Regions from separate parts of the Homo sapiens genome. Here all the other regions are linked to region 3. Evidence: promoter capture Hi-C in 16 types of primary human blood cells and fetal thymus (Javierre and others, 2016). All regions are on one chromosome and are shown on one strand. The core of a region is centred on a gene start or on the middle of the fragment in contact, and the rest is flanking DNA. Distances in the headings are between cores, read along the strand shown. Region 1 overlaps IFRD1 (interferon related developmental regulator 1). Region 2 overlaps IFRD1 (interferon related developmental regulator 1). Region 3 holds the start of SAMTOR (S-adenosylmethionine sensor upstream of mTORC1). Region 4 has its middle 67 kb from the start of LSMEM1. Region 5 has its middle 18 kb from the start of LSMEM1. Region 6 overlaps LOC105375457 (a long non-coding RNA gene). Region 7 has its middle 300 kb from the start of SMIM30.

The links. The method cuts DNA at HindIII sites, captures the fragments that hold promoters and counts their contacts. A CHiCAGO score of 5 or more calls a contact.
Region 1: a contact is called between a fragment that was not itself captured here and the fragment with the promoter of SAMTOR in region 3, in 4 of 17 cell types (total CD4 T cells, erythroblasts, fetal thymus and 1 more). The highest score is 6.2, in total CD4 T cells.
Region 2: a fragment that was not itself captured here is called in contact with the fragment with the promoter of SAMTOR in region 3 in 9 of 17 cell types (naive CD4 T cells, fetal thymus, total CD8 T cells and 6 more); the score reaches 16.2 in naive CD4 T cells.
Region 4: a contact is called between a fragment that was not itself captured here and the fragment with the promoter of SAMTOR in region 3, in 3 of 17 cell types (neutrophils, naive CD4 T cells and M2 macrophages). The highest score is 6.6, in neutrophils.
Region 5: a fragment that was not itself captured here is called in contact with the fragment with the promoter of SAMTOR in region 3 in 2 of 17 cell types (M0 macrophages and M1 macrophages); the score reaches 7.5 in M0 macrophages.
Region 6: a contact is called between a fragment that was not itself captured here and the fragment with the promoter of SAMTOR in region 3, in 4 of 17 cell types (fetal thymus, total CD4 T cells, naive CD8 T cells and 1 more). The highest score is 7.6, in fetal thymus.
Region 7: a contact is called between a fragment that was not itself captured here and the fragment with the promoter of SAMTOR in region 3, in 2 of 17 cell types (M2 macrophages and M1 macrophages). The highest score is 9.2, in M2 macrophages.

The regions. Positions count from the first base shown.
Region 1 is chr7:112,472,484-112,476,186 of GRCh38, forward strand. It overlaps IFRD1 (interferon related developmental regulator 1), which reads left to right. Exons shown (of 12, transcript NM_001550.4): 11 at 283-378; 12 at 2,947-3,703. The coding sequence ends at 3,036. Among named protein-coding and RNA genes, the nearest start is that of LSMEM1, 6.7 kb to the right of the region's middle. The HindIII fragment of the contact is 3,376 bases long and covers 420-3,703 here.
Region 2 is chr7:112,452,668-112,456,465 of GRCh38, forward strand. IFRD1 (interferon related developmental regulator 1) reads left to right here. Exons shown (of 12, transcript NM_001550.4): 2 at 3,096-3,200; 3 at 3,335-3,419. Among named protein-coding and RNA genes, the nearest start is that of IFRD1, 4.1 kb to the left of the region's middle. The HindIII fragment of the contact is 6,019 bases long and covers 1-3,798 here.
Region 3 is chr7:112,938,595-112,942,595 of GRCh38, forward strand. SAMTOR (S-adenosylmethionine sensor upstream of mTORC1) reads right to left here and starts at 1,281. Exons shown (of 5, transcript NM_152556.3): 1 at 997-1,281. The coding sequence starts at 1,156. RefSeq lists a silencer at 1,110-1,209 and enhancers at 1,239-1,755, 1,410-1,749. The HindIII fragment of the contact is 2,363 bases long and covers 33-2,395 here.
Region 4 is chr7:112,546,122-112,549,577 of GRCh38, forward strand. No RefSeq gene overlaps it. Among named protein-coding and RNA genes, the nearest start is that of LSMEM1, 67 kb to the left of the region's middle. The HindIII fragment of the contact is 3,015 bases long and covers 86-3,100 here.
Region 5 is chr7:112,496,825-112,500,305 of GRCh38, forward strand. No RefSeq gene overlaps it. Among named protein-coding and RNA genes, the nearest start is that of LSMEM1, 18 kb to the left of the region's middle. RefSeq lists a silencer at 1-101. The HindIII fragment of the contact is 1,751 bases long and covers 1,240-2,990 here.
Region 6 is chr7:112,427,235-112,431,211 of GRCh38, forward strand. It overlaps LOC105375457 (a long non-coding RNA gene), which reads right to left. Exons shown (of 3, transcript XR_001745325.2): 3 at 1-3,977. It also overlaps a transcript of IFRD1 not described here. Among named protein-coding and RNA genes, the nearest start is that of IFRD1, 21 kb to the right of the region's middle. The HindIII fragment of the contact is 2,509 bases long and covers 1,430-3,938 here.
Region 7 is chr7:113,419,350-113,423,338 of GRCh38, forward strand. No RefSeq gene overlaps it. Among named protein-coding and RNA genes, the nearest start is that of SMIM30, 300 kb to the left of the region's middle. RefSeq lists an enhancer at 2,268-2,790. The HindIII fragment of the contact is 5,117 bases long and covers 1-3,989 here.

The DNA.
Region 1 (3,703 bases), core at 858-3,357, 470 kb before region 3:
AAGTAGACTTGAATAAATCTGAAGCTGTTCCTTTTTTTTTCTTTGTATTGTTAAAGTTGGGTGGACGGTTACTGATGTCTGTATGAAAGCAAATAGCTTGACATAGCTGTCTTGGATTCAAGGCATTGAAAACAATTTGCTTTCTATTGAGAAACAGAAAATAAGTGATCTAAGTTTATCTGTGGGTTCCACATAACTTCTGTTAATCAGAGTCACTCTGTCTAGTGAAAAAGAGCTATAATGTTTAATACTGAGCCATACCACCTTTTTCTTTCACATAAGTCAAATGAATTCCTTCGAAATGTATTTGAACTTGGACCCCCAGTGATGCTTGATGCTGCAACGCTTAAAACGATGAAGATTTCTCGTTTCGAAAGGGTAGGTTTTGTTTTTATTTTTAATAAAACTAAGTGCGCCAAAGCTTTGATTCTGTCTAGTGTCAGCAACTTAGCTGTGTCTACCTATATGTGGAGTTTTAGTTTTTCATGATGCTTCACATAGAATAGCTGTACTAAAGATACAGAAAGCATTTAGAGTGTGGGGGGCGTGTGTGTGTGTGTGTGTGTGTGTGTGTGTGTGTGTGTATATATGTGTCAGCCTGGGTGACACGAGTGGGACCTTGTCTCAAAAGCAAAACAGAGAAAAGAATATTGCTGCTTGTTTGCCCATTAGGTGTATTTCTTTCATTTTATGAAACATATTTTGACAACACGTTAAAATTTAATATGTACATATATATTTTACGTATAATTCTATCTTAATATAGGAACGGTGTTCATTATTTGTTTCTTTTTATTCTTTGGAGTTTTTATGTTTAAGAATAAGTATTTACATAGTCCTTTTGTATCAGATAATAGCCTGCTAAGTGAAGTACCAGACTCGTTTTACAAATGAGGAAACTTAAGAGAGTTAAATAGTAATTAATATCATTTTTACTTAACATTTCTTTTTTTTTTTTTGAGATGGAATCTTGCTCTGTCACTCAGACTGGAGTGCAGTGGTGCAATCTCGGCTCACTGCAACCTCTGCCTCCCAGGTTCAAGTGATTATCCTGCCTCAGCCTCCTGAATAGCTGAGATTACAGGTGTGCATTACCACACCTGGCTAGTTTTTGTATTTTTAGTAGAGACAGGGTTTTGCCATGTTGGCCAGGCTAGTCTCGAACTCCTGACCTCAGGTGATCCACCCACTTTGGCCTCCCAAAGTGCTGGGATTACAGGCATGAGCCACCATGACCAGCCTGCATTTCAAAAATCCTTAATTTATGTATTTTTTTTTGTGCTGAGATGAAATTCATATAACAGACTATTTTAAAGTATACAGTTCAGTGGCACTTATTACATTCATGATGTTGTACAACTCTAGTTCCAAAACATTATCACCTCAAAAGAAAACCTTCTGTTCATTAGCAGTCACTTCCCTTGTGCTACCCCCCGCCACTGGCAACCGCTAATCTGCTGTCTCTGGATTTACTTTTTCTGGAGATTTCATACAAATGGAGTTATATAGCATGCAACCTTTTGTGTCTGGCTTTTTTCATTTAGCATAATGCTTTGGAGGTTCATTCATGTTGTAGCATGAATTCAGAGAGCTTTATTCTTTTTTGTGGCAGAATAATATTCCATTGTATGGATATATATCACATTTTGTTTATCCATTTTAACAGTTGATGGACATTTGGGCTGTTTGCATCTTTTGGCCGTTGTGAATAGTGTTGCTCTGAACATTCACATACAAAATTTTTTTTGAAAGGCTCTTTGCAATTTTGGGAGGTATTACCTAGGAGTGGAATTGTGCTGGGTCAGATGATAGTTTTACATTTAACTTTCTCAGAAACCACCAAACTCTTTTCCATAGCTGCTGCACCAGTTTACATTCTCATCAGCAATGTAGAAAGAAAGGTTCCAGTTTCTCCACATCCTCACTAATAATTATTTTAATTATAGCCATTCTGGTGGGTGTGAAGTGTTTAATTACATTTTATAGAACCTGGATATTTTATCAGTTTTATATCCACATAATTGTTTCTTGTACGGCATTTTAAGTTTTTTTTAAGAAACATTAATATTTTTACATACTTCTCTCTTTTGAATAATTTTTTTGAAGAAATCCCCTGCATAATGTATTGCCAAATTACTTTCCAAAGTTACTCTTATATTGGAGACGATATTTAAATTGTCTCCAGCAATGAATGAAGGCATGTAGCTGTTACACAAAGATTTGACACCATTGAGTTTTATAATTTAAAAAATGTGTTTATTTAATTGATATTAAAATGGCACTTCATCACTTTTTTCCTTGTTCTAATTGACAGCCAAGTAGGACTATTTTCTGCATTAGTCATGATTTGTCTTTTCTTGGATGAAACAATGTTGATGTCCATTTTTCACTGTTGGTTTTTGAAATCGTCTAACTTTCTTGGCGTTTTACAATTTGATTAGTACTTTTCTTAATATGGAATAGCCATTAACTCTTTATTTATTTATTTTTTTTGAGACGGAGTCTCGTTCTGTTGCCCAGGCTGGAGTGCAGTGGCGTGATCTCGGCTCACTGCAACCTCTGCCTCTCGGGTTCAAACGATTCTCCTGCCTCAGCCTCCCGAGTAGCTGGGACTACAGGCATGTGCCACCATGCCTGGCTAATTTTTTGTATTTTTAGTAGAGACGGGATTTCACCGTGTTAGCCAGGATGGTCTCAATCTCCTGACCTCGTGATTCGCCCACCTCGGCCTCCCAGAGTGCTGGGATTACAGGTGTGAGCCACCTTGCATGGCCCCTGTTAACTCTTTGTTTTTCTCCTTCATTCTTTGTGTGTGTTTTATAAACATTTAAATGTTTATAGGGTCAAATTAGTTCATTTCTTTTCTTTGTGACTTTTACCCTTTTTCTGTTTTGTAAGAATATCTTAAGTCTTACTGATGCACGTTTTTCCTTTTTTTCATTTTAGCATTTATATAACTCTGCAGCCTTCAAAGCTCGAACCAAAGCTAGAAGCAAATGTCGAGATAAGAGAGCAGATGTTGGAGAATTCTTCTAGATTTTCAGAACTTGAAGACTATTTTCTAATTTCTATTTTTTTTTCTATTTCAATGTATTTAAACTCTAGACACAGTTTTTATCCTGGATTAACTTAGATAACTTTTGTAGCAGTGGTTATATTGCTTATAATTTAATGTACAATACTATTGAAACTGGTGAGTTCTGATTATTAAATATTCTCTGTAAATCAGTAAACATGTATAAAGTATTTGTAATGTTTGGTCATAATTTATTTATGAAGACAGCAAAAGACTGATTTCATGATGGGGAAAACAATTAGCCAAAGTTTAATTTCTTACACTGTGGTTGTCAAGAATACTGATTTACTATAATGATATATACATGCAAGATATTTAACTTAATATCTTAGACAAGAGTTCTGGGTACAATTTTGGGATCTAGTTCCCCTGGAAAAGCTGCTGTATTTTTAATTTTTAATGGAATGTAGCTTTTAAAATCCTGTCACTGGCATCAACAAAAGGAATTATACCATGAGACCTTATAGCTGTACTTAAAAGCCATTCAGTTCAGCTATTGGGAGTTCATGATGAATTAGCATATGCCAGAAAGGTTGCTAACCTTAACATCTGAGAGCAGTAACACTGATTTTATCTGCTGTATGAGACTTTGTGCATTTTACTTTGAAATAAAGATTTTTTTCCACA
Region 2 (3,798 bases), core at 401-2,900, 490 kb before region 3:
TATAGTACCTATACAGGCCTCTGGTGGCTGTATGGGGATTGCCTTTTAAATTTTGCTTCAGGGCTCATTTGTGACCTTTCATCAGCTTTATTGCTGCTACCTTTTCACTATTTTAGTAGAAAAGATCCATTTCATCACTGAATTTTAGCATATGTAAACAAGTGGAAAATAATTCTTTGATTAATTTATAACACAATACATGCTTTGAATATCTTTGGAAGTGTGTGCTAGAACTTGTTAACTGTGGTTACCTCAGAAGTGGAGCTGGGGAAAGGTATGGGGGTGAGATTTACTTTTTAAAACTTTAACTTGGTCCTATGTGAATGTTTTACTTGTTTAATAAACAATGAATAAATAATAGTTGAGTAGAAGAGATGGAAAATTACACAAACTTTTGCTTACTTAACAAGCCACTTACCTAACTAGTATTTTTAAATGACATCTAAAAGAAATGGGATTCAAATGAGGTCTCCACTATGTAACCAAATTGTCATTATTACTTTAATGAGTTTTCTATTTAAACTCTTTATTTTTTTTATGTTAGTGGAGAGTTTTAGGAAGCTAATAAAATTGACTTCTTTTATACAGGTATGTCATAGCACTTAATTTAAAGAGAATATTTTTAAGAAAGAACAAAACCTTGTTAGTAAGCCCTCTAGAAATAAGTACTTTATGTGCCTAGAGTGCCATCTCTTTCGTGGTACTTAGGATCACAGTGTGGGTGGGTGAGTTTGACCTAAATATCAGGCATTCATACAGGGTTCTTTTTCTTGATACATATATATGTGTATTTTTTTTCTTTCCCTCGAATCTTAGAAATCATTAATACTGATGAGTTAAGGGAGCAGAGTAAGAGCTGCATAGGAGGAATACTCTTAGAAATAGGCTATGAAAAAGAAAAACTGTGAATTGACTTGTGAATAAATGTTAATAAAATTAATCAGATGACACTCATCTGTTGCCATTACTTCAGTCATAAAAACGAGGAAGATAGATCCAGAAATAGAGTGTGATGTCATAGGTCTTTGTTTATTCCTGTCCTAAGCACTCCAAGAAATTTTGAGATTTTGGCTTCATTGCTTAATCTTTATGCTTTACTACTTTGGCACCACGCAAGCAAATCTGAAGGCCACTTGCTTGCTGTGTTAATTTAAAAATCTGCTAAATTCTCTGTTTTGATTTTAAAAAAGACAACTCCGTTAAAAAAAAAAATCCAGCCCAACAGTAACAGGCTTAAATTTGGAGCATTAAAAAAAAACCGTTAAGGTGGTGACGTTTGAACATACGAACTTTGATTTTACTGAAAGGGAATTAGGTTCAGAGGTTAATCAGGTGACTCACGGTCACTTTTGGGGCAGAATTTGGGACTTAATTTAACTCAGTGCTGAATTGTAGTTTATGACTTGGCAGTCCTTTTATTAATACAAAATCCCTAAGTGACTGTATATTTATTCCTGAAGTTAATGAAGTTTAAAGAAAGATTCTAGTTTTTAAAAAGAAGATTTTATTTTTTTAGTAACAGCATTGGTACTTTTTTTTTTTTGAGACAGAATTTTACTCTTGTCCACAGGCAGGCAGTGCAATGGTGCTATCTCGGCTCACTGCAGTCTGTGCCACCTGGGTTCAAGTGATTCTGTGCCTCAGCCTCCCAATTAGCTGGGATTACAAGCGCCTGCCACCAGGGCCAGCTAATTTTTGTATTTTTAGTAGAGACTGGGTTTCGCCATGTTGGCCAGGCTGGTCTCCAACTCCTGACCTCAGGTGATCTGCCGGCCTCAGCCTCCCAAAGTGCTGGGATTATAAGTGTGAGCCACCGCACCCGGCCAGCATTGGTACTTTTAAACTCTTGCACATTGTAGAAACTTTCCCTTAAAGGTAGTTTATCTGATAGGCTTTTATACTATATCAAATACCAAAACTTCTATTTTAAGCCTTTTTTGTCTTCTCTCACTTCAAGTTGTCTTTAAAACTACCCTGCCTTAACTCCTTAATTCCCCTTAACATAAGACATGTGTAACCTAAAAACCCATTCACCAGTTCATGTTTGCTAAGTCCAGCCATTCTCATTGGAAAATATATTTGTCTTATTCTTATGATTATCTATGATACAACACTATTTCTGGATCTGTTTTCATTGTCTTCATGATTTGAAATCATGGTCTAGAAATAATTATTTCATCTTCATATCAGTTTTTTTTTTTTTTTTTTTTTTTTTTTGAGACAAGGTCTTGGTCTGTCGCCCAGGCTGGAGTGCAGTGGCACCATCTTGGCTCACTGCAACGTCTGCCTCCGAGGCTCAAGCGATTCTTCTGCCTCAGCCTCCCGAGTAGCTGGGACTATAGGCACGCACCACTACACCGGGCTAATTTTTGTATTAGTAGAGACGGGGTTTCACCATGTTGGCCAGGCAGGTCTCAAATTCCTGACCTCAAGTGATCTGTCCGCCTCAGCCTCCCAAAGTGCTAGGATTACAGGCGGGAGCCACCGCGCCCACCTTTGTATCAGTTTTTGTGTCATAAAAAAATGAGTGCGTCGGCTGGGCTCAGTGGCTCACACCTGTAATCTCAGCACTTTGGGAGGCCGAAGTGGGTGGATCACGAGGTCAGGAGTTCGAGACCAGCCTGACCAACATGGTGAAACCCTGTCTCTACTAAAAATACACAAAAAATTTGTCAGGCGTGGTGGTGTGCGCCTGTAATCCCAGCTACTCAGGAGGCCGAGGCAGGAGAATTGCTCGAACCCAGGAGGTGGAGGTTACAGTGAGCCAAGATTGTGCCACTGCACTGCAGCCAGGGCGACAGGGAGGCTCTGTCTCAAAAAAACAAAAAAAACAAAACAAAACAAAAAAAAGAATGCCTCTTGTTAGAGGACTGATGCGTATAGTTGATGTATCATTGGTCCTTTGAAATACGTAATTAGGTGAACTTAGTTTAAGAATATTTAAGTATGTTCACTTGTGATAAAATCTCTTTTTATAAAATGAGTCTGTGGTTTTATTACTGGATTTCTCTTTAAGTAAACTTAAAAATTCCAAAGTTAAATATTTAGGTATATGGCAATAAAATAATTTACCTCTTTCCTCTTTTACCTAATAGGTGGCCAGCATCGAAATGTTCAGCCTTTTAGTGATGAAGATGCATCAATTGAAACAATGAGCCATTGCAGTGGTTATAGCGATCCTTCCAGTTTTGCTGAAGATGGTATGAGTTTTAAATTTAAATTTGCAACTTTAGATAAAATGTTTCAGGTGGAGGAATTCTTGTAGCTAAAGTATACTATTATTCCCTGTTTTTTTTCTTTTAAATTACGATGGCTGTTTTATATTATTTCTTAGGACCAGAAGTCCTTGATGAGGAAGGAACTCAAGAAGACCTAGAGTACAAGTTGAAGGGATTAATTGACCTAACCCTGGATAAGAGGTAGGCAATACTGGAAACTCCATTCTGTGTGAGTCTATGCTTGATCTTAGTCAAAAGCTAAGAGAAATGATTATTCTGTGTGATTCTAATCAGTTACCTTACATGTATATAATTTGTGCAGCTCTCAGATAATAGCAATATATTTTTCCTAAAGGTTAATTTGTTTACTTTGGATGTTTCTTATTCCGTTGGACTTTAATGTGGGTAGTAACATGCCATTAGAATTTAGATTGAGTCAGATTAGTCATTATTCTAGCATAATAGCACATACATAGCTGTATTTGATTATAATAGAAATGAATTTGTTGAATTAAAAGTTAATCTTCAACTAGAAATGATAACGAAACCTTGCTTTAAGCTGCTTGTCCACTAATGTTAT
Region 3 (4,001 bases), core at 31-2,530:
TTGCAATTAAGCTAAAATGAGAACCAGTGGAAAGCTTTCCTCATTTCGATACTCAGGAGAAGTCTCTCTCCCAAGCCTATGAAAACAGAATTTTCACTGTCAAAATCTTATAAAACAGCTGTGTACAAAAGCCTATATTTAAAGATATCAAGGATAACTGTAGACTCCAACTATAAACACTCTTCAGGCACAGGCAAAAGCCACTAAGGCTTCTTCCCCTATGAGCTTCCACAGAGGGGGTTCTCACCGGAACCCCATCCATGGAAGCCGAGGGTGGGCTTTATCGGCAGGTGTCTTTAGGAGGCTTCCAATACAAACGGTATTTTCAGAACCTGCCCAGATCTCTTCCTCATCGCCTAAATAAACAGTTAAGACCAAGTATTTAAGAAATGGGAGTGGGGGCCACGAGTGTAGCCCGCCCCCTTTTAACAATGTGAAGTCCAGTCAGCTAAAAGGCCTGCTGGCTTCCCAGCCCTGGAAGCCAATGCGAGGAAGGCTCGGCATGGTTGTAGGAATGAAGTACTAGGAAGGGGGTCTGATAAGGAAGCAAATGGTACAGCCGGTAGGTCAAGCGTAAAGGAGGGACAACTCAGGTTTCTTTTCGTCTTTTACAAATGGATTTTACCTGTCTTGTTTTACCTCGGCGTCTCTTGCAAAAAGCGACCCCCACCTCCTCTGTGAGCGTGTATGTGTTTGTGTGTGCCGAGACAACAACCTCAGCACCCCGGCTGGGGACAGGGGCTTGGAGGGGGTGGGGACTCAATTCCTTTACAGGCCTAGAACTCTCCCGAAGGGCCCTCAAAGAAAAGGGGGCGGGGAGGAGCGCGTCTGATGCCGACTAGGGGGCTCAGACCAGGCCCGGGAGAGCAGCAGCGGCTGGGGGGACGTGCAGATCCTTTACATTTTAATGGTGGCCTCTTTGGAGGAGGGAAGAGGTGACAAGCGGTTGGGGGTGATGAGGCCTCCCCTTCCTCCCTCACTCAGCGCGCTGTTTACCTTCTCGGTACTTCTTGCGGAGCCGCCGGTGGACGCTCTTCACCACACCGGAGAGCTTCTCCTGCTCCAGTTTCCGCTCCTGCTCCCGGGGCGGCGGAGTGTTCGGGGACCCGGCCCTCTGCGCACGAGCAGTATTTCGGCCGCCGGCCCCTGGCTCCATATCGCAGCCGCCGCCGCCGCCGCCGCCCCTCAGGCCCCCGCAGACGCTCCCCAGATGGAGGAGGTGGGGTAGGAGGAGGGAGCTGCGGAGGCAGCAGCCAGAGGAGGCAGAGGAACCGGAGCGACAGCCTTGGAGGTGGACCCTCACCCAAAAGTGCAAACTGATTGGTGGATTTTGAGGGCTGGGCGGAAACGGAAAAGGCTAAGGGCCAATGGGCAGAAAGCGCCGGCGGCGAACCCGGTTGTTTGGGAAGGCGAGCAGCTGGAGGAGGCGGAGCTTGCGGGGATAGGGAGGCTGAGGCAGTGGGAGCTCCAGGCCTGGGTGCTCATCTCTTCCCCACCCTCCCCGGATTCTGTGCGCAGGCGCTGTGGCTCGGCCTCGGGAGACGAGCTGTGAGCAACGCGCTTGCGCGTCTCAGTTTGCTTAGTTTGGGCTTTTTTACAGCTCGGCTTTCTGATGTCTTCCATCATTTTCATCCCCTACACTTTATAATCTGTTGCGATGCGGCCAGGGTGCTCTGCTTGAACCTCCGCTGCACCTTGTCACATGTAGGTTCCCTTTAGTTACTTGCGCTTTGAGATGACGTTACACTTCAGGGACCTCAAGCACACAAGCATTCTAAGGCTCAAGGAGAGGTCTGGCTACCAAATGCTAATTTAATTCTCAGGTCGACAATGGTTTATGCCTGCAGTACTACTGCTGGGCAAAGGACATAGAAAATGCGAAAAGGAGAGGGCCAAGAAAAGCAACAGGAGATGCAGGAGGACAATAAGGAACGATGGAAAACTCACAGCAGATGCCCTCAAGAACTTTTGTAGTGACCACGGTGTTAATAAGCAGCCTTCCCTGATCTTATTCGCATCAGCACTCTGAGCTTTTATGGTCAGCTCAGGTGACCTCCTGTCCTTTAATTTGGAGAGTTAGTCTATGCGGAGTGTATCTAAGTGGGTTTGGTAACCTGTTCACCCTCCTCCACTTCTTTTCCATCTCTTGGGGAACGCGATTGTTGACTTCTGTCCCAGAAAGGTGGAACACTGCTCTCTGGAGAGAGGTAGACTGCATTGGCTCCTGAAGTGGTACTGAGGCTGCTGGAGTGTCAGAGATTGAATAGACTGAGAGCCCCTAATGAGTTGTGTTGGATTGTGTACCACTTCCCCATTGCAGGTGTTGGTTACGTGACAGTCTATGGAAATGATTGCAATGGTAACATTTTGATAATGATTTTCTAACTACGAATAAAGCTTGCATTATGTAACTGTTTTATATGCTACCTTCTTTATATTGAATACGCTGAAGAGCAAAGAATTATACACACTGTCTAGGACACAGGAGAAGCGGGAGGTGAAGGGAGATTGATGGAATTTAAAGGCGGAAGATGTGTCCCTACAGCACAGTGAAGAGACAGATCAAACACAAAGACAAGGACATATAAACTTCAAAAGAACTCCTTATAATTATGAAGAGAAGTTAAGCGGAAGTGCCTAATAAATTGAAAATATGGTGGTCTTATTTGGGGGAATTTCATTTGGGAAGAAAGGGGAGCTTGAATTACATGTCTCTTTTGGCTCTTTCCATATTTTAATACATATGGAAGGCAAATAATGGTGCAGATATTCGAAAGATACAATGATAGTAAAAAGAGCATTAAATTTCACTTGTGCTGAACTGTAGTTTTATTTTTTAAAAAAGAACTTTTCAGCATAATACTAGCAAATGAACTTTTAAGGCCTCTTAACTGAAGATGTTCACTGAAGGAAATTTGGAAAATACAGAAAAGAGTAAAGAAAATAAGACATCTGGACTGAGAGATAACAACTTAACATTTTTTCTTTGTTTGTATATACTAATTTCAAATAGGATATTTCTTGATGCCTATGTGGCAATCTATTGTATGAATAGCCTACTATTTCATTAACCAATTCCCAGTTATTGTAGATTTATGTTTTTTCCAGCTTTTTTGTATTACAGATAATGTCATGACAAACACATTTGCACACAAGTATTTGTCCATTTCTTTAATTATACATTCCATCAGGCTAAATTCCTAAAAGTTCAATTTCTGAAGCAAAGGGTCAAACATGTTAGGGTTTTGATGTATATTATGAAATTGCCTTTTCTGAAAGATAGTAGCAGTTTATGCCATGTCCACTAGTACCTATGGGTGTTTATTTCATTGCACCCTTACCAAAGGTAGGTATTACAATTTACAAAGTCATTAATGAGATTTTAAAAACATGTCTATTTTTTAAATAAATATGTGGAATTTCCTGCTGTTTCGTAACTAGCTATTCTTATTGGTATAATATTTAACTTAAAATACCAACGTAAGAATAAATAAAAGGAACTTATTTAAGACTATCTAGTTGTTGTTGTTCAAGCAGATTGAAGAGTCCTACCTTTTAAAATTACTTTTTGACTTCACACTTTCTTGAAAAGCAACCGAAGAAATAACAATTGGACAGCCAGATTTTATTTTAAAGAAAATGAAATCTTTTTATTTTCTTTAAATTTTTTATTTAAAAAATGTTTTATTTAAAATTTTCATTTAAAAAATTTTAAATTTTTTATTATAAAATAAAGATTTTATTTTAAAAATAAAAATAAGATTTATTTTATTTTATTTTATTTTATTTTATTTTATTTTATTTTGAGATGGAGTTTCACTCTTGTTGCCCAGGCTGGAGTGCAGTGGCGCATTCTCGGCTCACTGCAACCTCCGCCTCCTAGGTTCAAACGATTCTCCTGCCTCAGCCTCCCGAGTAGGTGGGATTACAGGCATGCGCCACCATGCCCGGCTAATTCTGTATTTATAGTAGAGACGGGGTTTCTCCATATTGGTCAGGCC
Region 4 (3,456 bases), core at 343-2,842, 390 kb before region 3:
ATTTCTCAGAGGTTTTGTTCATGCCTTTTCATTCTGTTTTTCTCTAATCTTGTCTATCTGACTTATTTCAGCAATATAGTCTTTAAGCTTTGAGATTCTTTCCTTTTCTTGGTCTATTTGGCTATTGATACTTGTGGTTGCATTGTGAAGTTCTTGTGTTGTGTTTTTCAGCTCCATCAGGTCATTTATGGTACTCTCTAAACTGGTTATTCTGGTTAACAGCTCCTGTAATGTTTTATCATTGTTCTCAGCTTCTTTGCATTGGGTTAGACTATAGTTCTTCAGCTCACTGAAGTTTGTTATTACCCACCTTCTGAAGCCTACTTCTGTCAGTTCATCAATCTTAGCCTCAGCCCAGCTCGTGCCCTTGCTAGAGAGGTATTGCAGTCATTTGGAGGAGAAGAGGCACTCCGGCTTTCCAAGTTTTCAGCGTTTTTGCATTGATTTTTTCTCATCTTTGTGAACTTTGAGGCTACTGACCTTTGGATGGTTTTTTTGTGGGGTCTTTTTCATTTTGTTGTTGTTGCTTTCTATTTATTTTTCTTTTAATAGTCAGACTCCTCTTCCATAGAGCTGCTGTGGTTTCCTGGGGGTCCACTCCTGACCCTATTCACCTAGGTCATTCCACACCTGGAGGTGTCACCAGTGGAGGCTGCGGAACAGCAAAGATGGCTGCCTGCTCCTTCCTTTGGGAGCTCCATCCCAGAGAGGCACCGACCTGATGCTGGTGGGAACACTCTTTTATAAGGTGTCTGGCGACCCCTGTTGGGAGGGGTCTCACACAGTCAGGAGACACAGGATCAAGACCCGCTTAATAAAGCACTCTGGCTGCCCCTTGGCAGAGTGGACGCACTGCACTGTAGGGAACCCCCCTTGTCCGGGCTGCCTGGATTCTTCAGAGTCAGCAGGCAGGAAAGACTAAATCCCCTGAACCATGGAGATTTCGGCCACTCCTCCCCGCAGGGGCTCAGTCCTAGGGAGATCAGCGTTCTGTCCGTAAACATCTGGCTGGAGTTGCTGAAATTCCCACAGGGAGGCCCTGCTTGGTGAGGAGAAATGGATCCGGGTCTCACCTAACGAAGCAGTCTGGCCGTGGTCTGCCACAGCCGTACCGTGGGGAATTCCTCCCAGTGCAAATCATCCGGTCTCCCTGGCACCGGCAGGGGAGAACGGCCGACTGGAGCTGCAGGGATGGCGGCTGTCCCCACCCCCTACCCAACCAACTTGGGTGTGTCTTAGGCAGTCTCCAGTGTGCTGCCACTGGCCGCAACCTGAGCGGCTACCTAATGTCTGCACAGTTCTGTGCTTGGGACCCAAGGCCCTGGTGGCGTGGGCTCACGGAGGGGATCTCCTGATCGCAGGTTGCACAGATCCATGGAAAAAGCATGTTTTCCTGGGTGGGGTAGAACAATCACTCACCGCCTCCCTTGGCTGGGGTTGGGAGTTCCCTTTGCCCTGTGCAGCTCCCGGGTGGGCCTTTGCTCCACTCTGCTTTTCCTCGTTCTCTGTGGGTCATGCCAACCGCCTCATCAGTCCCAATAAGAGAATCTGCATACCTCAGCTGAAGGTGCAGGATCCACTCACCATTTTTGTTCTCCTTAGTGGGAGCCGTGGTTCACAGTGGCTTCTAGTCGGCCATCTTGGTCCCTCCATAGGATTTTAGAATCAAAACTTTTAAAATAAGTAACAGACATAGGACATAAAATTCAAAAAGTGAAAAAAGGGTATGCCATAAAAATTAAGTCACTTCCCCAGAGATAAACCTCTTGATGGTTTGTGTTTCCAGATAGTCTATCATAGGATAGGTTTTGAGCAAACGTTTTATCAAAATGAACAACTCAGCCAGGCATGGTGGCTCACACCTGTAATCCCAGCACTTTGGGAGACCAATGCAGGAAGATGGCTTGAGGCCAGGAGTTCAAGACCTGCCTGGGCAATATAGCCACCCACAGTCTCTACAAAAAATAGTACAGCTAAGCAAGCAATTATGTAGTGTTGCATGCCTGTGGCCAGCTACTCAGGAGGGTGAGGTGGGAAGATTGTTTCAGCCTGGGAGGTTGAAGCTGCAGTGAGCTGTGATAGCGCTACTGTACTCTAGCCTGGTTGAGTGAGACCCTCAAAAATAAATAAATATATAAACACTTCCATTTCCTTCATACCCAGTGAGTTGCTTGTTATATAGTAAGTATTCTCTAAATGCTAATCATAGGAAACTGATGAATCATTTAGAAAGTTTTATAAAAATAATTTTTCCAAGTTAAAATTTCTCTTTGTTTACTACATAATACCAAAAACAATGTGAAATTAAGTAGTGATCTAAAAAAGGCAAATAGAGGTGTATGTAGTTTGAAATTGTTTTATTGCTTTAAAGCCCTCAATATCCAGATGATGAAAGCAACATTTCAGATTAGTAAAGAGAAATGTAGATTATTTAGCAAATGGTATTGGTACAATTGAGTAACCACCTGGAAACAAAACCAAAGTGGATCCACAGTTTACACTTTACATAAAAATACCTTCAGATGATTCAAGTATTTTTATATAAAAAATAAAACTATAAAGGTTTTAGAAGAAAACATGAGAAGAAACTTGCTGGTGGGGAGAAATGAGTGAAGGAAACTTTTTCATGATAGACTTTTTTTGTACTTTATGAATGCTGTACTATGTACATGTATCAACTAGTCAAATATTTTAAAAATAAAATTGAATAATTAAGTTAAATAAGGATATTGTTTTTGTCAGAATATTCAAGTCTAATTTGTACTTCAAATACTTAGTATTAACTAATTTCTTTCCAACTTCATTTCTGCTGTAACAACAAAACCTGAACATGGCAGTGAATATGAGACCCCCTTGCTCTTGCTGCTTTCTGAACGAAGAAATTGGGGAAAATAGTTGCATGGTAGGAGGAATTACTGGAAATGAGAAATAAAACACATTGGATAATATTGTGAAATATGTACTTGTACTCTCCTCACTACTTCACTTTCCATGAGGATTTTTACGTGCTTTATAATATAATATTTTGAGAGAATGACCACATCTTTGGGTTTTCTGATTGGTAAATCTGTTCTAATCTGTGTAATTCACAAATATAAGAAGCTTGATAGAAAACGAGCTTGCTTTGTCTATTTTGTTCTTCCTATTTCAGGCTTTAGCTGACTAAAATGAAGATATCATAATGCAAGCACCAGATGTGACTAGAAAGTTGATAGAATTTAGAGCCAAGAAGAGCTCTAATCTTTGCTTTAGACTTGATTATTATCAACATATTTAAGGAGTTTGCTTTTGGAGGAGTGAAGTGATCCCACAAATTCCAAGCAGATAATTATAAAAACTTGTTAAATAATTAAAAAACTATTTAAAGATATTAGAAAGTATTGAAAAGCAGCTGAAAGACAGACAAAAGTTTAATCTCTGAACCAGAAGGGGTAAGAATTGTGAGTTTGTCTAATC
Region 5 (3,481 bases), core at 865-3,364, 440 kb before region 3:
TTGAGCAGACAATAAGCTAACTGCTATCCCAGGAAAGCCCTCAGCCCCATGCAAACTGGGACAGTTGGTCACCCTACCTTTAGAGAGAATAACAGAGCCATCCAGAGAGTTTCTCTGGATGTCTCTACAGAACTGCCTACAACCTCACCCTAACTTTTAGCTTTTCCTCAAGACTCACATCGAGGTAAACTGCTTGTTTTAAGAACTAACCTCTGTCCTTAATTCAGTCTCCTATTCCTAACCCGGGACCATGTTCTATCTAGTCAATTTGTCCCTTTCCAACTGCTAAAACATTTCTCAAATCCATCCCTTCCTCCCTATCCCTACTGTCTGTGCTCTACTTAAGCCCATAATTGTGTTTTGTCCACATGATCACAACAGACTTCCCACCGGTCTCGTAGACTCTGGGTTTGTCTCTTTCGAGTCCTCATTCCACAAGGCCATTAGAATAACCTTCTTAAAAATGTAAATCTATACCCTCCCTAGTAAAAAATCTTTAATAGTTCCCAAATCCTGCTTTGTAGGTTCTTTATAGCATGCTATTTCCACGATGTCTTTGTTCAGAGAGTCCCTTCTCTTTGGGATATTCTTTCTAATCCCTTCATTTCAACATCCCTCCTGCATGTATCCAGTCTTCTCAAACAGACCCTCTAAAATGTTTTTGGTTTTGCTTCCTCAAGGAGTCCTACCCTAATATTTTCAGGCACCAGATGGACTTTGGAGTCAGGTGAACTGGATTAGAATCTCAGTTCTGATTCTTAAAAGCTGTGTGGCCTGGGAAGGAAACTTAACCTCTTTCTCAGTTCCTTCCTCTCTGAAAATGAGGGTGATAACATTGACCCTATAGTGGTTGAAAGGAGATCACGTGTTTGTGAAACACTTAGCATAACTCCTGGTTCACAGTCAGCATTCCACTGGGCTGTAACCACCACGAGGGTAGAGACCATGTCTCTCTTTTTCATCCTTGAAACCTTAGTGCCTAGCAGTGTCTGGCAGACAGAAGGCTTTTTGAATAAATGAGTAAAGAAACAGTAGCTTTTAGGAATGTATTTATATACATATGTATTTCCTACAGTTTCCTCCTTATTAAAATTGCTTGGGGATAAGAAACCTCTAATTTTCCTAGGCTTTCTCTTATTTGCAAATGCATCTGTTTACTCCTCAAAGGTGGATTGTGGATTCTTCATGAAGAAGAATGATTTAACCTGGAAAGATTAGAGATGTCAGTTGACCAGGGAAAGCTTTTCTTAACTTATAGTGACCTTTGTGGAGGAATCCATTGCTTAGTGGACTCTGATGATGCAGCTCGTCCAGTCAAGGTCCACTCTCCTTGACTTTGCAGCTGCTGTCCTGGGGAAGGATGATGAGGGGGAGCTCAGTCAGCAGGTGAGACAGAAAGGGGGTCTTGCAGGAAAAGGAGGTGAATAGATTGTCCTTGTTCTTGCTTTACTCTCTACTCAAATTTGTCTGGTTTTTGTTTGTTTTGTTTTGTTTTCAGATGTAGGACAAAAGAGACATTTTGCTGGTAGTGGTGCAATTCTTTTTTTTTTTTTTTTTTTTTTTTTTGAGATGGAGATCGCAGTGGTGCGATCTCGGCTCACTGGAACCTCTGTCTACTGGGTTTAAGCTATTCTCCTGCCTCAGCCTCCCCAGTAGCTGGGATTATAGGCACCTGCCACCACGCCTGGCTAATTTTTTTGTATTTTTAGTAGAGACAGGGTTTCACCATGTTGGCCAGGCTGGTCTTGAACTCCTAACGTCAAGTGATCTGCCTGTCTTGGCCTCCCAAAGTGCTGGGATTACAGGCATGAGCCACTGCGCCTGGCCTGTGGTGGAATTCTTTACAGTCTGAATTTAGTGCAGGATCAGCTATGTGATTTGTGGAGCCCAGTGCAAAATGAAAATGCAGTGCAGGCCCCGTGTTTATAAATTCTTAATAATTTCAAGATGGCAATAGCAGAATATTAAACCAAGCACAGTGTCCTCTGCAACTGCACAGGCTGACAACCGAAGAAACTGCTCTAGTTTAGAGATTTGACAGACAAGAAAGTCTGTGTGTTCCTGACATTTTCTGCAGTGTTCAGCTCAATTCCTGACTTACGAAGTTTAGAAAAAGAAATACCCAGCCAGTAAGTCCTCTCTTCTTCATAAAGCTCTGCTATGTTCCCTGTGATTTACACCGTCTTGGTCTTTTGGTTTGTTTTGCCCAAGACCCTGAACGTCTTTGCATTATGGTTTCTCCAGGTTTAATTCTTTTTTTGTTGTTGTTTTTTTTTGAGACGGGGTCTTGACCTGTCACCCAGGCTGGAGTGAAATGGTGCTATCATAGCTCACTGAAACCTTGACCTCCTGGGCTCAAGTAATCCTTCTGCCTCAACCTCCCAAGTAGCTGAGACTACAGGTGTGTGACACCATTCCTGAATAATTTTTTAAAAGTTTTTTTGTAGGAATGGGGTCTTGCTTTGTTGCCCAGGCTGGTCTCAAACTCCGGGGCTCAAGTGATCCTCCCGCCTCAGCGTCCTAAAGTGCTGGGATTACAGGTGTGAGCCATTGCGCCACTGGGCTGTGCCACCACTCCGGGTTTAGTTTTTTTGTCTGCCTGCTCTCATCCTTTTTGTTAGAAATTTGAATGTGCACTACATTCTTTCATTCCTACATTCTTTCTTCTTTGCATTTGTTGTCCTTTAAACAGATTTTCCATCTTTAATTCATTTACATTTTTTTTAAACTGTCCTTCTACGGTCATTTTAGTTTTCTCTGGATGCCTTCCAATTTTCATTTTTTCCTCAGCAAATAAAGTGTTTAAAATGGAGTGTGGTGATCTAGGAGCCATGGATGTGAAGGCAGAGCTTAGGCTGCCTTGATCTTAGGAGACCCAGCTTATAACTGGATGGTTCGCTAACCCCCCAGCAACTGTTATGCTCTAAATTAGACCCACTCTTTTCTCATGGTTGGCTTCTGACCCAGTATACTTGGCATTTCCTTTTTCAAGCTTTTCCTACATCCATTTTGTATCAGCTTCCTAGGTGTAGTTTTACTTCCAATTATTTTAGCACTCACCTTTAGTTGAATCTTGATTGATTTTTGACTATTTATTTTCTTTGGCTCCATACCAACTTATTCTTTGGTCTTAATTTTTGACCTAAGAAAAGAAAGTCCACCCATATTGGGTCAGATATTTAGCCCAGGATTCTGCTTTTGGCAGTCAAGGATATTTTATGGATGAATATGGTGGTTTTCCATAGTTCATCTGAGTGATTAGAAATTAAAAACACATCATGGATCTATAGCATATGATATTAAATTCTTCCTCATAGCTGTTTATTTCTGTATTTTATTATAATTTTTGGCTTTCTGACTTCCCTCTCTTTCCCTTCTCTTCTCTATTGCCTCAGTCTGTAATTTCTAAAGCAGGTTTTGTGCCTTCAAGACTATTGCCTGGGATTGGGTAATCAAACTAAACAAAGCATTGGAAAATCTA
Region 6 (3,977 bases), core at 1,434-3,933, 510 kb before region 3:
AGGGCAGAGCCCTCATGACCTAAACACCTCCAATTAGGCCTCACCCCACAATCCTGTTGCATTGGGGATTAAGTTTCCAACACATGAACTTTGGGGGAAAGTTCAAACCATAGTGGAAGCAATTGCTGTTAAGGTGGCAGGGCTAGCATGTTGAGGACAGCAGTGCTCCTCTGCCAGCCCTAAACTGATCACCACTGGATTTTTACATGTGAGAGAATTACATTTACACTACATTTTCATCATTCTATTTTGTGGTCTTTTTGTCTCAGTAGCTTAGCAATTACCCTAATAAACTCCTTTCTTTCATTTTTAAAAAGGAATATGAATTCATTGTAGAAACGTAACTTGATGATAAGTAGAAAAACAACATAAACGATAGCTATTGATCCCTTTTACTGATTATTCTGTCTTCTGTGTTTAATTGCTTTCTTTTCTTTCTCCTACTCACAAGCTTAGACATACCCCAGAACTATCTCTTATCTTTCTATGCTCTATCACAGAGAATAACTCATGTAGTGCTTGATTTCATCATTAATTTGTTCACTCATTCAAAAATATCTAGTGAGACCTACATTCTGTGAAGTGCTGCGGATAAAAAAATGCATCAGATGTGGCTCCTATTCCCAAGGAGATCACAGTCTGGAGAGGAGAGGGAAAGGCAGCTATAAACAGGTCCTTTTAACACAGGGTGCTGAGTGCCTTGATGGAGCACTGTATGTGTCATTACAGAGGAGGGCACCTCACCAGCTTGATGGGGGCAGAGGGGTGGGTCTCTATGAAGACCCCCAGGAAAAGGTGAGCCTGGTAAAGAGAGTTTAGAAGGAGGAGGGATGAGGGAAAAGGGAGATAATTCTCAGCCAAGAGGTCAGTCAGGAACCAAAAACCCAGATGTAAAAACTTTCAAGGCATTTGCCAGAAATGCAGTATTGTGCTGACATGTGAGAAGTGCAAAGCAAGGGTGTCAAGAGCTGAGCTGACAAAGGGGTGAGATCACACAGGCTTTGCTTATAATACTATGGAGGCTTGGGCCTTCTCCTGATGAAGCTTTAATGAAGAGTATTAACCAGAAGTGTGAGATTATCAGATCTACCCATAGATAGAGTATTCTGAGCGGCTGGGTGAAGGATAGGTTTCTAGGAGGTAAACAGGGTGGAAACAGGGAACGAGTTTGGAAAAGCTATTTGCAATGGAGTAGTTAAGAGGCAGTGACAGGTAGATCTAAGGTACTGGAATGAAGAATGAAGAAATAAATGAACTTGAGAAATACTTAGGAAATTAAATGGGCATGGCTTGGTGACTGAAGAGGAAATAGGATGAAGGATAAAAGATGACTCCTGGGGGTCTCACTTGGGTGGCTGGCAAGATGAGGGTGACACTGTTAGTGGCTTAGCTATCATCTGCTTATGAGGTGGCTTATCGAAGGTAAGGAAGCTTAACCTTCAGACTCCTTTCCTTGCATGAAGCCATTCAAAGGCTCTGGGAAGGGCCCTAGCAAATTTTGTATACTTGAATCTGTATTCTTTTTCTTAAACAGAGCCCCTACCCTTTTAAAGCTGGTATTAGCTTCAGACACACAAAACCTGAATCCACCCTGCCCGTCCCCTTTCAAGTCATCTTTCTTATTACCAGTAGATTAATCTTCCTCAAAACAAAACGTTGACATCATGTCAATCCTCTTCTCAAAAGCTATTGTCATCATGACAACAGACTTTATTAACTTGACAGTTTTACTTTGGGGTGGCCCTTTACTGCCTCTAAAATTCATCTCCCTACAAATCTTTCTAGTTCAGAAAAGTAACTTTGACCTGTCTGTCCAAAAGCAGGAAAATAATTTACAAATGTTTGAACTCTTTGGTTCTTAGACCTATCTACCAATTGAGTTGCCTTAGTTGCAATTACTCCGTTGTACTTTCTTGTTTGTCTCCCATATTCTTGCTTTGTTTTTATCCCAATTGTGGCTTTTTCTACTTTAAAACACTTGCCTAATCTCAAACCTGGCTATTCAGTTGTGTTTGGCATGTCTTGTACCTAAAGAAACCACTGGCCTATGCACACATCACTCTGTATCATAGTCGTTGGGCACATCCAGCATGTGATTACACTTTAGAATTCTGTTTTTGGTCACGTTAAGTCAAAGGCAATTTGCACTCTAGAATGTTCATTCAGATGTATAAATCTTTGAACATCAGTTATTCAATAGTTCCAATATTTGGAACACAGCATGCTGTCATCTGCAGTCACAGAGGTGTGCTGGACCATTCTCACATCTGAAAGAAGAGTTGTCTTTGTTGTTCACCACATTGCCACCTGATAAATGGCTTCTAAGGATTTTCCTGCAATCTGAACAGCTGCTACTCTGTGTATGAAAAATCTAATTTTACTTTGTAAGATTTCTTCCCATAATGTCCCGTCTGCTTCAACAGATTCTCACTCAGACACACTAAAATGGGACTCATGATATCAATTTAATATTTTAGCAATTTCAATAAACAAGGCATATTCTTTTTTCTTTCGGGATAAGGCAGGCCTAGCATCTTCCTAAAAAAGAATATACTCTGCAACCTCATGTTACAAAAATTGCAGCTTGGTTAAGTTTTCTATTGATAGTCCTTCAGTTTTTCTTATAAGAGCATAACTCATGAGAAAAGTTGTTATATAAATAAAATATAGAATGTTACTATTAGAAGACACTTCTGAGCCATAGAGCATAGTGCTGATGTTTCAGTCAGCACTTTCTCATCTCCCTTCTTCTCAGCTTCTTCCTACTTCTTTATCCTCTCCATGTCTGTTCCATGTTGGCAGATACAAATCAGAGGTATGGTGGGGTTGACAGCACCTGCAGAGCCCTAAGGGCTTCTTCTCTTGGATAAAAGGACTTGGAGCTGCCCACTCTCATTCCACAGAGGGAGTTAGGAGCCAAGGAAAGCAAAAAATTGTAATCAGCAACGTAGAAAAGATGCAACCTGAGGCAGGTGAAGGATTTGGGAGCCCAATTCTTTTTTAGGAAAATGCTGTTTTCTATATCATAATTCCCTTCTGTTATCCCAAGCCTCCTGATTGTTGTGGTACTTCAGGGATTCAGGGATGGGCATGTGTCAGTGCCGGGAATACAGCAGATAGGGAAGCCTGGCAACAATCTGGAAGGTGGTTCTGAGATGGCCAGGGGTGGCCTGCTGAAGACTGGAGCAGCAGTCTAGCTCTTAGCTGAAGGGACAAGCAGTAGCTAGGGAAGATGTGTGGAACAGGTAAGCATTCCTTGGGGATTTTCAGAAGCACTTAGGAAGGAGAACCTGGTAAAAGTCTAAACTTCCTTTTCATCACAAATGACATGAGCCCTGATTTTTGTTGCCCTGGGAACACTAGAAAATAGAGAAGTCTTTCACATCTGGCCTACCCAAAATAAACCTTCGTGAGCCCATGTCCAGGAATGGGGCTAATTCTCTGCTTCTCTTCCACACATATGTTCACTCCTAACTACTTTTCATCCCCTTTCTATCTCTGTTCATTTTGGGGTTGACCAAGTGGGTGGACTAGACTAAAGGGAGCCAGAAGGATCACCTACTGCAGTTTGCTACTCCGCCAGAAGTGGCCTGGGGTACTCATACAGCCTGGGGCCTGATGTAGAAGATTCTCCCAGCATCATGTTTCACCTAGGTCAGCACCGTGTTCCCCAGCTAATTGATACAGAAGCTCCCCAAAGGCCAGTGAGAGTGGAAGGACCATTCCTTTGAGCTCCTCCTTTCTTCTTCTTTCTTGCCTCATCCTTCTCCTCCCCTCCCTCCCACCTTCTTTTCTTCATGTGTCCTTGATCCTAGAACATTTTCTGCTTATTATTTTTCGAGCGTATTGCTGTTACTACCAGTATCCTGTGTATCCTGTTGTGGCCAGAAAGCTACTGACACCATTAGTGCTTTACAGGGCACAAAGGGAGCTAAGGAAGCTTAAGGCTAGACTAGGAGGTTTCTGTCTTGCTCTTT
Region 7 (3,989 bases), core at 853-3,352, 480 kb after region 3:
CCTACTAGGACATCTAAGGGAGACAATCTATATATAAGCTGTTTTTATAAGATTCTAGAGATTAGAGGAGAGGTTGGGACTTGAGATAAAAACTACTGAACTCACCAACTTATAAATGATATTTGCAATTCATTACCTGGGGGTGAGTGTAAATAGAGAGGAGTCCAAAATATTGAGCCTCAGGGGGCTCCACAATTAATATGAGAAAGTGAATCCAGCAGAAAATCAGGAAGGAGGAGACAGCAACATACAAAGAAAACTAGGAGTCCCAGAAGCTAAATAAGGATTTTTTTTTTTTAATGAAGACTGGCCCATTCTTAAGTAAATGAACTCAGAGAACTGGATTTGATAATATGGAGATGATGGGTGGCCTTAACCAGAGTAGACTGAAAGCAGTAGTGTGAGTGGATTCAAAAGAGAATGGGAGGGAGATGAAAATGTGGAAAATGAACAAAGACAATTATTTTGAGTGGTTGTGTAATTAGAAGCAATAAAGTGGAATTGTGGAGAGAGTTTTAATCTTTCTTTTTTAAAGAAAGGAGTTATTACAGTAGTTATTTTGTGAGGATGGGAATGATAGAATAGAGAAGGAAAAATTAATGATACAAATGAGAGAAGAGATAATTGCAGGGGCAAAGTCTTTGAATATACTGAGGGTGTAAGGGATGCAGGGCAAAAGTCGAACTATCTTAAATCTATGACAAAGGGGTATAGTTGTATAGCAAAGTTAAAATAAGGTAAAAATAGAAAAAATGTAGATAACATATATTAATATATCTAAAAAAAGTTTACCCCTTTTTAATAAGTACATTAATGAGGAAAAAACACATTTCAGTTAAATGATGGATAACTGGATAAATTATGATACATTCACAGTAATATTTGATAGTTTGAAGAATGGGTGCAAATATGTAATAACGAATTTAAAATTTTTAATTTCTTTACTTTTTCTTTATTTCACAGTGGGTATTCACAGGTGGGATTATAGCATATTACATCCCTTAACTCCTGAGCTCAAGCCATCTTCCTGCCTCAGCCTCTTGTGTAGCTGGGACTGCAGGCACACCCCACCACACTAGGCTAAAAAATTTGTTAATGTTTATTAATCATCCTAAGTTGAAAATATCTAGACTTCTGGGACACCATTAGGAATAATGTACTAAAGCCTGGAATACGTAACAGTGGCTTTGAGGATGTTGACCTCTTACCGTTAGTTTTGTCTATTCCTGAAAAATAATTCAAAGGCGATTCTTTAAAATTAAATGGGGTTGGCTAATATTGATTATTAATGGGAGAAAGAGGAGGGAAAGGTGGGTAGAATGGGTTTCTTTGTAGTCTGACTTATTAGAGGGGAAACTCTTGGAACCAGTGAATGATTTGCATGCACAGTTTCTCGTGATCTAGGCAAAGAAGGAAAGGACAGCTAGCATGTCAATTCTATGACGCTGCAATTTGGAAAAAGAAAGGATGATATGCTAAGATTTAACTAATATATTGTAAATTCAGATCTTTCAGCCAAATGTTTTCTCAGTAATAAAAGTGTCAATTAGGTATGTTTTTTTTTTTACACAGATTGAATTTTTGACCACTTTATTTTATTTGCTCTCTTTATTCCAGTGTAAAATTCCAGAAATGAGGGTATATTCCAGGTGGGTGAACTGCACAGTACTTATTGTATAGTTCTCCTTGTTTAATAAAAAGTAAACTTTTTAAAAGGTACTGAAAGTTTTTTGTATATCAAGAAAATTAGCCGGGCATGGTGGCTTACGCATGTAATCCTAGCACTTTGGGAGGCCCAGTTGGACGGATCACTTGAGGTCAGGATTTCAAGACCAGCCTGGTCAACATGGTGAAACCCCATCTCTTTTAAAAATACAAATTTTAGCCAGGCATGGTGGCACATGCCTGTGATCCCAGCTACTCGGGAGGCTGAAGCAGGAGAATCATTGAACCTGGGAAGCGGAGGCTGCAGTGAGCTGAGATCATGCCACTGCACTCCAGCCTGGGCGCGACAGAGTAAGACTCTGTCAAATAAAGAAAAAGAAAAAGAAAATTAGCCCCTTGTTTTGCCAATATTTGCTCTCACTTTCTAAGTTTGTCTTTTGACAATTTATAATTTTTTTGCTTTGCAGAGTTTCTAAGGTATCATTTTCTCAGGCTATATTCAGGTATATAAAAAATTAAAAATAACATTTTCCTTCATTTCTGAGTACTTCAATTTTGTTCATATTCTTGGCATTCCTCCAGCCCTTCCTCTGTTTCACGTGATAACAGGTGAACTGCATTCACTCCAGTGTAATTCCATCCATTTCAAGTTTAAACAAGGTCAACTCAGGATTTCCTCTACTCCTCTACCTCTATTTCTCCCTGGGGATACTGTAAATTCTGGGTGTTCTCTGAGGGTCATGGTGTTGGGGGAATATGATTGGTCCCTCAGCTGGGTTCTGCTCCTGTTTGCATCTGCTGAGCTGGCCATTACACCCACCGATGATTGGCCTCACTAAAATGGCTGTGTTCCCCAACCCCGTGGCAGCCACCTGCTGGTTTCCTATTGTTACAACCATCTGCTGCCATCTGCTGGTGTATGCTCTTGTTACAACCAATGAGATCTCTTCAGGTCCCATAGGTCTCTCTCAGAACTTACAGCTGTGTACTTTTCAGGGTAATTTCATCTTCTCCTCCGTTGCTCTCTGGAGCTACAGGAAATTGGTGGGATTGCCTCAGCTCTCCTACTTCATCTTCACTGGTCCCATGATGCTGTGATGCCAGTCGCAACTCCTGTGAAGGACCTTCCCTCCTGGTGTTCCAGACAAGGATGGGGTACAAGTCTCCTGTCACTCTTAGATCCCCAAACCTCCTTCTCCTACCTTTGAGAAAATTTTTATTTCCTTTTAGATAGACTAAAACTGGCTCAGAGTTATCTCCCATAATTTTTTGGTATTTAAATTGGGCCACAGAAAGGCCAAGAACCTGACATAATTATCTTTGACTAACATGAGGTGTCTCTTCACTTTGTATCAATGAAGACTAGGTTCAGTTCTCATGCTTAAGTTAATACTGTAGAGAAGTCAAAGGGAACATAGGAAATAATCTGCCTGCTCATAATTGATATCATTATCATTCTGTACCCATGTTTACATAGTGGGATTTATCTGGCCTCCTGCTGCTGCTTCTGGTTTATGCCACAGTTATTTATTCTGAGGCCTTTTTTACCTAAAGATTTTGCAGAATTTCAACATATTTTCTTCTAGTACTTTTATAGACTCAATATTTTAAACATTTAAATCTTTGACTAGCATGGTATTTATGTTGCAGTGAGATGGGAATGCAGCTTATTAATTTCTCAAAATGACACAGCTACATAGCAGTTTGGATTTCTTGGAGGAAGATTAAGCCTGAAGAACTACTCAGAGATGCCGAAAATATTCATTAATTTTATGACTGGACCTATGAACCTGTCTTTAGAGACAGAGAATTTGCTCTCGACTTTGACTGCCTATCAGAACACCTGGGAGCTTTAAAAAAAATATTGATAACTGGTTCTCAACTCCTCCTGTAATTGCTCTGGGGCATGTCATGATTACAAAAATCTTCCTGGATGATTCCAGTACACAATCAAGGTTGAAAACTTGCCCATGCACAGTCAAGATTGTTTTTAGGGCAAAAGAGAGCGTGAGTGAGACCCATGTGATACCTATTTTCCCATGGAGTAATGTGGAGTGTGCATCCCAACACCCACAGGTCTTGTTGAAACCCAGCTTGCTGGACCCCTCTCTCAGGGTTACTGATTCCCTAGGTCTGATGTCATGCCTAAGAAATTTATTTATTTGATCCTTTTATTTGGACAGAAATTATCAGCAGTCACATTTATACTGGTACCTATCATTTCCCCATTGGAATTTTAAAAGATTGTAAATGAAAACAATTCTATATGCAGAACTTATTTATGTATACTCATTCTTGTTTAAGAGATGATTTAAGGGGAAATA